Linked DNA regions of Homo sapiens: region 2 is linked to region 1. The links are contacts of gene promoters, found by promoter capture Hi-C in blood cells and fetal thymus (Javierre and others, 2016). All regions are on one chromosome and are shown on one strand. Each heading gives the region's core, a stretch centred on a gene start or on the middle of the fragment in contact. The rest is flanking DNA. Distances are from core to core; before and after follow the strand shown.

Region 1 (7,132 bases), core at 2,122-4,621:
TGGAGTGTGGAGTGCAGTGGCATGATCTCAGCTCACTGCAATCTCTGCCTCCTGGGTTCAAGTGATTCTCCTGCCTCAGCCTCCTGAGTAGCTGCAACCACAGGCATGCACCACCACACCCAGCTATTTTTTAAAAATTTTTATTAGAGATGGGATTTCACCATGTTGGTCAGGCTGGTCTCGAACTCCTGACCTCAGGTGATCCGCCAGCCTAGGCCTCTCAAAGTGCTGGGATTGCAGGTAGGAGCCACCACGTCCAGCCAGTTAAAGATTTTACATAGGTTTTCACATCTGACAAATTTATTCTAAATATTTTCTAGTGATATTGCTATCAAAAATGAAGTATTTTCTTCTATTATGCCTTTTTTATTTTAATATAGGAAGGATGATGATTGTATATATTTACTTTATAACCAAAGACCTAACTGAATTCCACTATTGTTCTAATATTTTTTTTCAGTTGGCTCACTTTTTATATAATAAAATTTTTACTTTTATAATCTACAAGCAATTATTATTTGTCTTTTTCTTTTCTAATTTGTATACATTTTCTTTCTCTCTTGTAAAACTGCATTGCTTAGGATGTCTAGATCAACGTCTATGAATAGTTGTGGTAGTAGACATTCTTGTCTTGTTCCTGACATTAATATAAATATTTCTGAGTTTCCTTATAGATTATAGCACTAGCTTTTAGATTGAGATTAGTATATTGCACTAGGTTAAGGAAGTATCTATTGCCATTTATTGACAGTTTTGTTTTGTTGTTTATTTGCTTGTTTAGTAAGAATGGATGTTGGAGTTTATCAAATGTCTCTCAGCATCTAGAAACATGATTTTTAATCTATTAGTGTGGTAGAAATATATTAATAGATTTCCTAATATTGAACCATCCTTGCATTCTAGAATAAATATAATTGCTCATGGTGTGTTAGTTTTTTAATGTGTAATTGGATTTTGTTTAATAATGCTTTATATTCATAATTTTTGTGTAATAATCCTAACAGTTATTGTTTTATTATTTTGATTTTCTTCTTCAAGAACACCAATTATGCATATGTTTGATTTTTTTATATATTTTGCATCTATCATATAACCCTTTTAAATATCTTTTTTATTTATTCTTTTTACTCATTTTTTTCTAATTCCGTCTTCCACATGTCTAGCTATGCTTTCAGCAATGCCCTGTCTTCTTTGTGCAGTTTCCTACCACTTCTCATTCAGCTTTATCGCCTTTCCTTTTTCTAGAAACCTCACCACTTTGAGGCCCAGGGAAGCACTCAGTCAAGCTGACACACCCTTATTGCTAGAGAACAAATATCAGCAAACTATAGCCCATTGGCTAGCTTTCTTTTTTGGGAAGTAAAGTTTTATTGGAATATAGATATGCCCATTTGTTTATTGTACATGGTTGCTTCAGCACTACAGTGGCAGAATTTGATAGTTATGGCAGAGACCATATGGCCCAGAAATTCTAAAATATTTACTATTTGGTTGTATAAGAAGTGGTTTGCTGCCCTCTATTGTAAAAACCTCCATTTACATTTCAGTATGTATCACTTAGAATTGTGCTTTTATGACTTTCTTGAAGCTCAGAATCCACAGGCATCTTCACTCTGGTACTTCCTATGTCCTATGCCACTAAGTCTTCTCTCTCTCTCATTTAAAAATCTCTGTTGTTTCCTAGTTTTACAAAGGATAAGCTTTGCATTACTGTTTTTCTTGATTCCCTTGATGTTTTGGTTGGTTTTTCTGAGATATGAATAAGAAAATACTCACTTAGCTCTGCATGTTAAAATTGGAAGTCCTCAGATAATATTCCAAGAAATTATTTTTTATTTTCATCTTTGGTTGGTTGTTTTTTGACCATTGGATAGAGATCTTAGCATACTAAATGTCTTTATCCTGAATATATAGAGATTTTCTCTCCTTAATTTAATGATTTTATGACTTCTGCAATTCTTTTAGTGATTATTTAGTTCTCAATGAAGAACATAAACACAACTTTTTAAAAAACATGTATTAGTAAGGAAAAATTTGTTTTATATTTTCTATTGCCCTAAATTCTGACTCATATTAGACAGCTCGGAGTAATATTTAATACTTGAAACTTCACAAGTAATTACAAATAAATAAATGCTATAAATATTAAAAAATAGGAGCAATCTCAACTTTATCCTCACATTTTTCTGCTAAGACTTATTTAGTTACATATTGGGCTTATTTTAAAATTTAACCAAAATTATTTGATCTTTAATTATGTTTTTACCTAGAAATGTATATTTAAAAATAAAGTGTAATTCCAGTTGTATTTATACTATTCAGAATTTCAGAAGTCTGTAATCCCAGCTACTCGGGAGGCTGAGGCAGGAGAATTGCTTGAGCCTGGGAAGTGGAGGTTGCAATGAGCAGAGATCGCACCATTGCACTCCAGCCTGGGTGACAGAGCTAGACTCACTGCACTCTAGCCTGGGTGACAGAGCTAGACTCCCTCTCAAAAAAAAAAAAAAAAAAAAAAGTCGGTCTGCTCCTCTGCCTTTTTTTTTCCTACTTTTAAGAGTAGTCTGCCTCCGCAAACTTTAGTAAAGAAGTACTAAAATTAAGTGTGTTAAATGGTGTTAAGATATATATAAAAATTAATTTTTAAAGAGAGTTTAGATTGTTATCTTTAAATTTTTTTATACATTTCATAAAACATAAGTATTTCCTAATCATTAATAGGTTTTAATGAGCTTTAGTAGATGAGCAGAAATATCAGAGATATAAAATGATACTATACCGGCTTCCTTAAGAAGCTTTCTATTATTTCTTAGAATCCTGCTTTATTCTCTTTCTTGAATTCATACATGGCATTTAAAAATCTCTTAAAGATGGTCATCAAAAACAAACAAATTTTTTAAAAGATGGTATTTGACATCTCCCCTCCCTCCTCCTGCTTCTCTCAAGCACCAGTTTCCAGGTACCACTGCCTATAAAGCCTTTTCCAAACACAAATTTAATCTTTGAGTGTTGAGGTTTTTTTGGTGTTTTTTTTTTTAAGGTAATGTATTATCCTATGCAATGATATTGAGCTTTTGACTGAGAAATTGTGAAATCAAAAGTAAAGTATAGGAATTCCTTAATGGACATTTCAAGAACTTTGAAAGGCTATTGTAAGGGGAAGAAAGAGGGAAAATCTGTTTCAGTAGGAGACCTTCTCACCTCTTTACTCATAAGCCAGCCCGGGCATCATATGACTTCATCAGACTGCAACTTACTGTTCTCCCCTTTGTGGGGAGTGTCAAATGCTATAATAGAGTTCTCCAGTCTGAGGTCAGCGAAAGCTTCTCAAAGGAGATGATGCCTGGCTAAAGGGACTTTCTTTCTGAGAAAGGGATCAGCATGTGCAAAGATGAAGAGGCATAAGGACTGACCAGTGGGTCACGGCAATGAGACATTTACTGCTGACCTCCAAGAGAAGACTTCCATTGAATGAGAGGAAGATCTACACTACTAATGATCAAACTGTGAGTGTTTTAGCTTTGTAGACTTATCAGGAACTTGGGAGATCAAGAAGACAGGATCAAACAGCAAATGGAGCTTTATCAGAAATGAAGAAAAGCATTTCTCCACAGTCCTAAGCTAAACCCTTTCTGCTAGTCCCAGTTCTTATATGTGCATCAAGGCAAAAAAACATTAATCAGAACAGGAATGTTTGATTGCTCATTCAAATTTGAAATAAGCAGCTTCCATTCTTCTAACCTTCCCTGGTGGGGCCATAACATTATCAATCAATATCAAGTCTGGCATATCATTGGCTATCACTATCCAGTGAGTATCTGAGGCAGCTGAAAGAAATTGGGGCATCCATGTAAGAATATTCATTTTCTATCATTATTTACTTAAATATGTAATATATCAAGATCTGTTAGACATATTTAAGTATATATACTTATATGAGGTTGGGGGTCCCTGCAAGAAGTACCAAGTGTTTCTAGAAGAAATGTACTTGAATATAATCGCTGTATAATCACTGTGAGAACAGAGTTCCATATCTGTCCTGTACATGCTTGTCTCTAGTACCTGGAGCAGTATCTGACACAGATATGTGTTGAGTGAATGGATGAATAAATAGATAGAAGGAAGATCCTCCAACTATGAAGTTTCTTCTTTTCTTCTGCTGCTGTTGAGTAGATGAGGGTGCCAAGAAATAAGACAGCAACACCAGGAAGAAGAACAAATTTGGGGTGAGTAGGGGTGGAAAGGATGACTGATTTATAAATTGGGTTTAGGAGCCAAGAGTTATGCTCTAGCAATTGGGTATAGTAGAAGATATTTAAATAAGAAATTGCTGATATTCTTGCAAACTGAGCTTTTCTGTAAAATCATGAGTTTAGAATTCTTTATTTCAGAAGGAAAAAAAAAAACTTAGAAAGGTCAGTTGGAACAAAAAGGGAAATTAAAAAGCCACAGAGAGAAACAACTATGGTGTCCTGGGGTACATTTAAAATAAGAAGGTACTTAAGCAAAATCATTGCGTTGAGGACATTTTCTTAAATAGGATCAATTACCAGTGTCCCAGTCAATTCCACATGTCAAGAAGCTTGTCTACCTACTTGACTGACCCAGGCCTAAAAATGATAATAGCAACTTGGTGGAGTTATCTAAAGTTTGACAACCTTTCCTCACCAACCGGCAGCCCCATAGGACATATTAATCACTGCAGTTTTTACCTTGTACCAGATATTTAGAAAGTAAAACCGAAGAAATTTATTTCCATGTGTTTTGGTTGAAAAAAAGAGACGTTTCACTCAATCTATTCCAGAAAATATAGCCACTTTGGGACTGAACATTTCTTTCCATCTTAGCCCAAAGGCAATCACATTAGGGACGTTGTATGCAATTGGGGTGATAAAAATTGAGCTGTGGTCTAACCTATTGCATAATTTTCATTCTAAAATTACTTGACGCCGGACATAATGGCCCCATCAGTCAACCTATCATCTGGCTAGTTAAATGAAGTAAAATAACCTCAGCTGGTCTCAGAGGAGTGAGAATTCAACTGCCTGAGGGGTTGAGATTTCCTGAGAGTTTGTTCTGGATCTCTGTTGGGTCAGCCAGCATGCAATCTTACCTTCTGTCTCCACGGAAAAGCCCATTCAGGCCAAGGGAGAAGCTGCTTTAGATGAAGGCTGTAACCCAAGATGGAAACACTTAACCAGGCCAAAAACACTTTTTTCTTTTTGGTGGATCCAGTGCACAATGATTGTTCCTAATTAGGAGGTCTGACTTGAAAAGTTCTCCCCAAATGCCAGGAGAAAGTTCTCCTTAAGTGTCTTTGCAAAAAAGATACAGTGGGACAGAAAGTCAGTATTGATTTAAGGAACACAGCTGCATAAACAATGTTCATTCACCACAAGAAGAAAATTTATAGTATTTGTCAGGGAAAAGTAAACACGTTAGGGACTCTGTTTGTGACACAGTGTCACACATGATCCTTTGAGCCAGCAGGGACAAGAACAGATCAACAACAGAAGCAGCTTTCTCATGATGCTTGGGGTAGCACTTTTTTTTTTTTAACCTAACCCATTTTCTGCTTCATATTTTAAGAGGACATTACATTCAGACCATTGATACGTCTGTGGATGTTGGGGAAAGAGAGGAAACTATAGTGATGAGTCCTCTACCATCCTCATTCTCTATACTTTCCGGAAAAGAAATTCTGGAAAAAAAAAAAAAAAAAGCTAAAAAGCTAAATTCTCTTAAGAATTTCAGTGGTTGTAGGCATTCACTCCTGAAGCTATTTTTCCCCCAGGTTTGGGATTTGGCCCAGCCTTACAGAAATGTTTTCCAGACTTTAAATTTCATGGAGAGTTAAAATTGGTTTTAAACCCAATACAGAGTTTCCATCTTTTAATTTTACAAAGAAAGGTCATCTAAACAAAACAATATGTTTCTACCATCTATTATTACCTTTGCTTTCTATAAGATATGAATGTTTTAATACCAAAAGGGAAAGGCAAGAAAAGCAAGGATAAAAGCCTCAAAATAAAGGATAAAGCCCAATCCTTCTCATTTAGCTATTGAAAGTTGAAGACTATATCAGTAAGTGGCCCTGGTCCACAGACGGGCATTTGGAAATCACCGCATTAGGGGAAAGGCCACCGGGAATGTCTTGTGCCAAGGGCTGTAGAACACAGAGGTGTTTTGTTGTGTGTGGTTCATGCAGAGCTGTCATACCCATAGCTGTTCATCATACCCGTATCTCAGCAATCTATAAGTGTTGTTAAAGGGGCCTTGGGAGGAATTCAACTGTTGTGAATTTTTTAGTTTATTTTAAAGTTTGGCAAAATTTATATTATACATCCCTGGATTCTTAAATCTTTAAAGCCCAGTGGAATTTCAAAGAGCTTAATGATGTTTTCCTTTTAATGATCTTGACCCCAGAAATTCATTTTTAAAAGTAGTGTTACAGAGATAGAAAGTGTTCTGAACATTTTCAGGATAACCTGTGGTACCAGTGAACATACACAGACTTCCTAGGGGTTCCATGCAGGAAAGTGTGTATGTGTGTGCTTGTATGGGTATGCATGTGTGTGCCTGCATCTGTTTGCATGTGTGTGCATGCGTGGCAGCTGGAAGCACCTACCAGGGAGAGCCCTACTTTTGCTTGTCAGGGCCCCAGAAAACTGCAACTTATTGCTCTGACTTAAATTGGCAAACTATAAAGGTCACTTTTGGTCCTTTTTAGAAAACATCTAACCAGAAAAGGGAAGTGCAAATTAGAACAGTTTAGGCAGAAACTGAAAGTTAAGAACCGAGGGAAGGCCTTTAGAAAGAGAAGTAACCAGAGAGGTGAGAGGAAGAACACCAAGAAGAAGGAGTGCTCATATATGCCAGACTTCTTACAAGGAGTCCTCAGGCCTCCAGCAATCCATGGCTTTACTGAGAGCTTTCTCCTCTATATAGCACTCCTATCTATTAAATAGACATGCGTAAAATTGGCTAAAACCTCCTGTCCCAGAAAGGATTGTGATGATGGGCATTTCTGAGAGGGAAGTCTGCTCACCTGTGAAACGTTCCTGGCAGAACTTCTGTGGCTCAGTCCAGGAAGAAAATGGACCCATCAAATGGGTTTAGCATTGAGGCTCCCTTC
Region 2 (7,132 bases), core at 2,999-5,498, 570 kb before region 1:
GCCAACACAGAGCTCGGGCTGCAGCTTCAGAGGGTGGAAGCCCCAAGCCTTGGCAGCTGCCATGTGGTGTTGAGCCTGTGGGTGCACAGAAGTCAAGAATTGAGGTTTGGGAACCTCCGCCTAGATTTCAGATGTATGGAAATGCCTGGATGCCCAGGCAGAAGTTTGCTGCAGGGGCAGGGTCCTCGTGGAGAACCTCTGCTAGGGCAGTGCGGAAGGGAAATGTGGGGTTTGAGTCCCCTACACAAAGTCCCTACTGGGACACTGCCTAGTGGAGCTGCGAGAAGAGGACCACCATCCTTCAGACCCCAGAATGTCCCGTCAGCTTGCACTGTGCACCTGGAAAAGCTGCAGACACTCAACGCCAGCCTGTGAAAGCAGCCAGGAGGGAGGCTGTACCCTGCAAAGCCACAGGGGTGGAACTTCCCAAGACCATGGGAACCCATCTCTTGCAACAGTGTGACCTGGATGTGAGACCTGGAGTCAAAGGAAATCATTTTGGAGCTTTAAAAATTGACTGCCCCATTGGATTTAGGACTTGCATGGGCCCTGTAACCCCTTTGTTTTGGCCAATTTCTCCCATTTGGAATGGCTGCATTTACCCAATACCTGTACCCCCATTGTATCTAGGAAGTAACTAGCTTGCTTTTGATTTTACAGGCTCATAGGTGGAAGGGACTTGCCTTGTCTCAGATGAGACTTTGGACTGTGGACTTTTGGGTTAATGCTGAAATGAGTTAAGACTTTGGGGGACTGTTGGGAAGGCATGATTGGTTTTGAAATGTGAGAACATGAGATTTGGAGGGGCCAGGGGTGGAATGATATGGTTTGGCTGTGTCCCCACCCAAATCTCAACTTGAATTATATCTCCCAGAATTCCCACATGTTGTGGGAGGAACCCAGGGGGAGGCAATTGAATCATGGGAGCTGGTCTTTCCCATGCTATTCTCATGATAGTATATAAGTCTCACAGGATCTGATGGATTTATCAGGGGTTTCCACTTTTGTTTCTTTCTCAGTTTTCTCTTGCTACCACCATGTAAGAAGTGCCTTTTGCAGGCGCGGTGGCTCATGCCTGTAATCCCAGCACTTTGGGAGGCTGAGGCAGGTGGATCACGAGATCAGGAGTTCGAGACCAGCCTGACCAACATGGTGAAACCCCATCTCTACTAAAAATACAAAAATTAGCTGGGTGTGGTGGCAGATGCCTTTAATACCAGCTACTCAGGAGGCTGAGGCAGGAGAATTACTTGAACCCAGGAGGCAGAAGTTGCAGTGAGCTGAGATCGCACCATTACACTCCAGCCTGGGCGGTAGAGTGAGACTCTGTCTCAAAAAAAAAAAAAAAAAAACAACTGCCTTTTGCCTTCTGCCATGATTCTGAGGCCTCCCCAGCCATGTGGAACTGTAAGTCCAATTAAACCTCTTTTTGTTCCCAGTTTCAGGTATGTCTTTATCAGCAGTGTGAAAATGGACTAATACATTTACTTTGGACAATTTAAGCAGGAAAGTCCAGGCTACTCCTGGAAATGACGATAACAAGAAAGAGACAAAGCACCTGAAAAAGCATGTAGAGTTGTTGAGCTTTTATCTTTCTTTCTGGTTCAGCATCTGGCATAGTAGGTGCTAGACTGACACTTGTTGAATGAATGGAGGTATAGTAGAAATAGCTTCTCTGGGATTAATTTTATGGTTTGTAGTTTTGTTGCACTATGTATGGGTGGCATGTTGAAGGAAAACCCTGAAGGCCTAGATTCCAGTCCCACTTTCGCCACTCATTACTTCTGTGACATTGGCCCAGACACTTTGACTTCTCTGGATCTCATTTCCTACTTGTAAAACAGGGACAATAATGCTGTCCTTCTCATGCACATGGTTGTTATTTGCATTAAATGAGATAATGGGCATGAAAGCAATGGAAAACTCTTAAGGTACTCTACAAATATAGAATATAATCATTTTGAAAGCACCTGGCTTTGTAGACAACTGCGTGAACTAATGTATATTGATCAAGACATGTGTCTCGTTAGGTAAAAACTGAAAGTAAAACTCATACACTTAAGATGTGAAAATAAACTCAGCATCTGGCGTAACACTAATTTCAAAAAGTAGTATATTAATTTCAAGTAGGAAATTAAAACAATAAAACTGTGATGTGAAAAATGTTCAACATTGATGCCTCTGACCTACTTCTGATGTCCAACATATTTACAATTCTCCCGAAGACATTTCTATTAGGTTAAAACCCATTAGTATTTGTGAACAAACACAGAGTTTCTACCATTCACTGGGCACTATTAGGTACTAGGTGTCCGGGGATATTTCTATTGCTGTTCTTAGCTCTATTGTTGGTTTACTTGGCCAGTGGTTGCTAGCTTTGCCAGTGTGTGTGTGTTTGTGTGTGTGTGTTACTTATCACAAGTTTCGTTAGCTTGACAAAGAGCTGTGTATATTCATTTACATGACAAATACTTTTTTTGGATTAGCAACTCTAATAAGTACAGGGTATTTAGAAACTGTGTGTGTGTTTTTCTACCTGCAGTCGTAGTCTTAAGTATGTTTCTTAATAGCTATTGAACATAAGTTTAATATTAGCTGGATGAATAAAGTATTAGTTACTGTATTCTCTTAAAAATAGACGTAGCTTTGTTACAGCACAGAAAACTGAGCTGACCTCTTACTAGATTGGCTAAAATGAATTCTGATTAAACATTTTGTAATGGTTTATAAAGTTCGCTTCTCTACAGTATATTAAAAGATTTGTTTAAATGTTGACTGTAAGTTTGGTAAAAATGACAAAGCGGTAAAAATGACATTTGGTAAAAATGACAAGGCTTACACTTTTTGATGATGTTCATTTTCCCCAAAAGTACAGCTAAAGCTTTATCCATTATAATGAGAGTTCAGAAAAGGCAAATGACCACCTCTTTTTTTAAACCAATATGTCTTTGTGCAGTAATTTTCTTGTGGCAAGTGGCATAATCTGGGCGAAGGTAGTGATAAAACTCAGATATATTTCAAGAAAGCGAGTAAACACACTAATGACAATATTCGTATATTACATGCATCTGCTGCTTATGTACTTAAAAAAACTAAATAGGAAAATCTTACTCATCTCTGTAGAAAAACAGGGTAGAGATTACAACTTGGGGACTTCGTGATATTTTGTCTGTGTGCAGTTTGTCAGAAGGCAATTTATCTAAAGCTGGAAAAGGATATGGTTTGGCTGACTAAACTGTGTAGTGATACGAGTGATACGTAATGATAAAAATGCTTAGGGGAATTTTCGGGGCGCTCAAGTCAAGTGTACAGTGCTGTGTGGGTGTAAAAACCAGACTTCTCTCTCTGTGAAAGTTGCTGACATTTTATACCACATGCTGGACCGTTAAATCACAATTTACGTGGTCACTTGTAAATACGCCTGGTGGTGGAGGGCGAGCTTGTTTGTGCACACTTTGACATGCTTCCCTGTTGTGTGCCTCTCCCCTTTTTAAATTGCACTGGATACTTTTGTTCTGGAATCCTTGGCTGTCTAACCTGAAAGCAGTTTGGGTGAGAACTCTGGAACTGATTTATTTTCATAGGTGCTCCCTGAGGGGAGGTTTGAAGGATAATGCAGAAAAGCAAGCCTTCCAATCCTCCAACTAAAGTTCTCTAACTTGCTATTAACATGATTTCAGGCTTGCTAGAGTGCCCGAAATTCTGACATGAAGGGATTCCTTCTTCCACCACTGGGATTTGGAAGTCCCTAGGATGTTTGAATGGGGCATATTATTTAAACTCATTTTCAGTCTCCTCATTGGTAAAATGGGGCTACTCATACTTATCAAAGAGGGTTTTTGTGGAGATCAAATGAGACAATGCAAGTCACTTACTTGATATATGCTTAATAGTGACAAACATAGTGATATATATATATTAATAGTGATAGTTATTGCAATTTTTCTTTTTGTTAGGGGGAAGAGGAGGACAAACAGGCCTTTAACATGGTGGAGAATTTGTTTCCCTTCCAAATACAGTTGGAGGATTACAGAATTGATGCTCAAAGAGAAGGCTTTGCTTTCATTGCTTAAGAGGGTTTCTTGGAGAGGTTCAGCAAGAGAAACACAAAATGAGATGTAGAAAGGGGATGGGGAAGGAGACTGCATACTAATGTGTTTCATTTCCAAGTGCTTTAACTTTTCTAAGCACTAAGTCATCTGCTAACTTGTCTTCATAATATATGGGTAAAGTTGGCAGGGTGGGTATCCCTTTCTACGGGTGAGGAAACTGGAGTGTGGACAGATAAACTCACCTGTTGTCACACAACAAATCAGTGGTACAGTTGGGATTAGGACCCATGTCTCATACTCTGAGCACAGCAGTCTCTCTATTAGGTGACATTCTCAGAGTTCAATAATTTCTTTCACAGTTTTGTGTTCAGACCTGGGGTCCCCATTGCTGAGCCTATTATTGGCACCTTACAAAATATCACATATGAGAAAGGTTGTAGTCTCTTGGTCCAAAGGACTACTTTCACCTGGAGATGGTTGGAGTTGTAGTATCTGAGTTAGATAAGTTTTCACTTCACGGTCATGGGTGGAGGTCTTTCTTGGACTTGGGCCAGGAAGAATCACTGACCAGGAAGGTCACACAAGGCCTGAGTCCTTTCTAACACCATCTGTGCACTGTATTTCAGGGCCTAGTGGCTGCATTGAAAGGAATGGAAAGTAGTTGCTGGTTATGTTGAGAAATATCAGGAAAGTGTGATGCCTTTCTCCTGTATTCCCTCTTCCCTCCCTCATTTTTTCACTTTATTGATAAAAATAATCCCAAAAGATCAGAGAGGGGTTCTATAGGTGTTAAACCACTGTGTTATGACTTGAACTACAAAGCCCTTGGGGGCATTCAATTTCCTCATGTTTTGGGGTAGCAGCAAAATTTAATTTTAGGTAGAAAAGGGTTAACTTAGGGGCAATGTAATTCCCAAATTATCAGTGTGAAAATCATCTAACTGTATGTGAAAAATCCAATAATGTTAAAGGTAATTATCTGGGAAAGTAAAAATAATACACAGGTCTTTGGCCAGAAATAAGGATTTGGAACATTTCTCTATGCATAGAGAGTTCTCTAGTAGGCAAATTTAGATTCATGTCAGTCATTAAAGGTCCCTGTGAAGTATTTAGTTTATCAATTTAGCGCTACATTTTTCTACAAAGAAGAGTTGGAGTGGTTTAGGTAAGAACACAGATATGCTAAAACCAAACCAGATGAACCCAAGACAGAAACTAGAAAGAAGGCAGAAGGAGAGGATGAAGATGTAGCAGTGAGAAGCCTGTTGGAGGAAAGTTTGAGTCAGTGAATGTAAGCACTTTAGCTTCCTTGTGGCCTGGAGAGCAGGTATTTTTTGGCTATTTTCTTTTTTTATACATGTATCTCCAGCACTAGAAGAGTGCCTGACCTGTAGTTGCTCAATCAATACTTGCTGAATAAAAATATATGAAAATCTGTCAAATAAAGGGTTTAAAAAAGCTGGACTAAAATGTTGAAAATGATTAAAGCTGGGTGATGGGTTCATGGGAGTCTACTAGACTATTCTCCTCTACATTTGTGTGTGATTGAGAAATTTTATAACAAAAGCTTAAAAAAATAACAAAGAAGACTAGACACTGTAATCACTGGAAATAACCAGACATTAAAAAATCTTTGTTTCCCTTTTTGTTACAGGGCAAGCAAGTAAAAAGACATTTTATATTACTAAACACTATCATATGCTAGACAGTAGTAAAACTATAGTCCCCAAGTTTATCTTTGAAGGACTCCAATGGCAAGATTTTTAATAAACAAAGCTGATCATCTCATCTGTATCATTATTTCTTATTATCACTCTATTATCATGGACTCCCAGGAATCTTGGAGATGAATTTGTTCACCTCCTCTAAGAGGAATCATCATCATTGTCCACTCCCTGTCAGCACTTTTTTTTGAGATGGAGTTTTACTCTTGTTGTCCAGGTTGGAGTGCAATGGCATGATCTGAGCTCACTGCAACCTCTGCCTCCTTGGTTCAAGTGATTCTCCTGCCTCAGCCTCCCGAGTAGCTGGGCCTACAGGCACGTGCCACCACGCCTGGCTAATTTTTGTACTTTTAGTAGAGTCAGGGTTTCACCATGTTGGCCAGGCTGGTCTTGAGCTCTTGACCTCAGGAGATCCGCCCGCCTCAGACTCCCAAAGTGCTGGGATTACAGACTTGAGCCACCGCACCCGGCCCACTATTTTTTTTTTTTTTTTTTTTTTTTTTTGGAGACAGAGTCTTGCTCTTTCACCAAGACTGGAGTGCAGAGGCACAATCTTGGCTTACTGCAACCTTCACCCCCTGGGTTCAAGCAATTCTCCTGCCTCAGCCTCCTGAGTAGCTGAGATTACAGGCACTTGCCACAATGCCTGGCTAATTTTTATATTTTCTAGTAGAGACGGGGTTTTGCCACGTTGACCAGGCTTGTCTTGAACTCCTGAGCTCAAGTGATACTCCAGCCTGGGCCTCTTAAAATGCTGGGATTACAGGCATGAGCCACTGTGCCCGACCCCTGTCAGCAGTTTTGCTCTTCCCCTCTCTCCCTCCAGGCCAGAGGCCATGATCTACATCCAACTTCTCTGCAAATTCCTGAACTCTGACTCGATTGTCCCTGTCAATCCTGCCTTTGTGTCTTCCCTTTGAACCTCACTTTCTGATTCTCCTGGCTTCTCTTCTTGACTGTCCCTTCTTGTCTTGCCCCGTTCAGGTGTAGGAACCTGGCCTCAGTCCTAATGAGGCTCCTTCAGGATGCAGCCTCTGTGAGCTGCTTTTGGCTTGTCATGTAACAGCTCTGGCTAGGACTGTGCTGTGTAGGGAGTACCGTCCAGGCACCCAGGGTTGCTGGTCATTACTTTCCTCCTGGCCCCCTGCCCTTTGGGTATGCATGACCTGATAAGGAGCTTAAGGAAACCCACATTAATAGCACTAAATTAGGCTCTATGGAAAGAGAACTCCACAGTCAGGATCTTTGTGCACTCAGGACGGGAAGCATGGACACCCTGGAGAGCATTTGTATTAACATGGGCATTTAAAAAGGTCATACAGCTTGGCGCAGTGGCTCATGCCTGTAATCCCCACA

What was found. Contacts are between HindIII fragments. The CHiCAGO score rates a contact against its expected background, and 5 or more counts as called.
Region 2: a fragment that was not itself captured here is called in contact with the fragment with the promoter of DLEU7-AS1 in region 1 in 4 of 17 cell types (monocytes, M1 macrophages, M0 macrophages and 1 more); the score reaches 5.9 in monocytes.

What each region holds. Positions count from the first base shown.
Region 1 is chr13:50,804,484-50,811,615 of GRCh38, forward strand. DLEU7-AS1 (DLEU7 antisense RNA 1) reads left to right here and starts at 3,372. Exons shown (of 5, transcript NR_046551.1): 1 at 3,372-3,503; 2 at 4,057-4,223. It also overlaps a transcript of DLEU7 not described here. The HindIII fragment of the contact is 1,259 bases long and covers 3,319-4,577 here.
Region 2 is chr13:50,233,829-50,240,960 of GRCh38, forward strand. The region is part of intron 2 of DLEU1 (deleted in lymphocytic leukemia 1); the gene reads left to right. LOC124900337 (a long non-coding RNA gene) reads left to right here. Exons shown (of 2, transcript XR_007063796.1): 2 at 1-5,516. Among named protein-coding and RNA genes, the nearest start is that of DLEU2, 110 kb to the left of the region's middle. The HindIII fragment of the contact is 2,738 bases long and covers 2,880-5,617 here.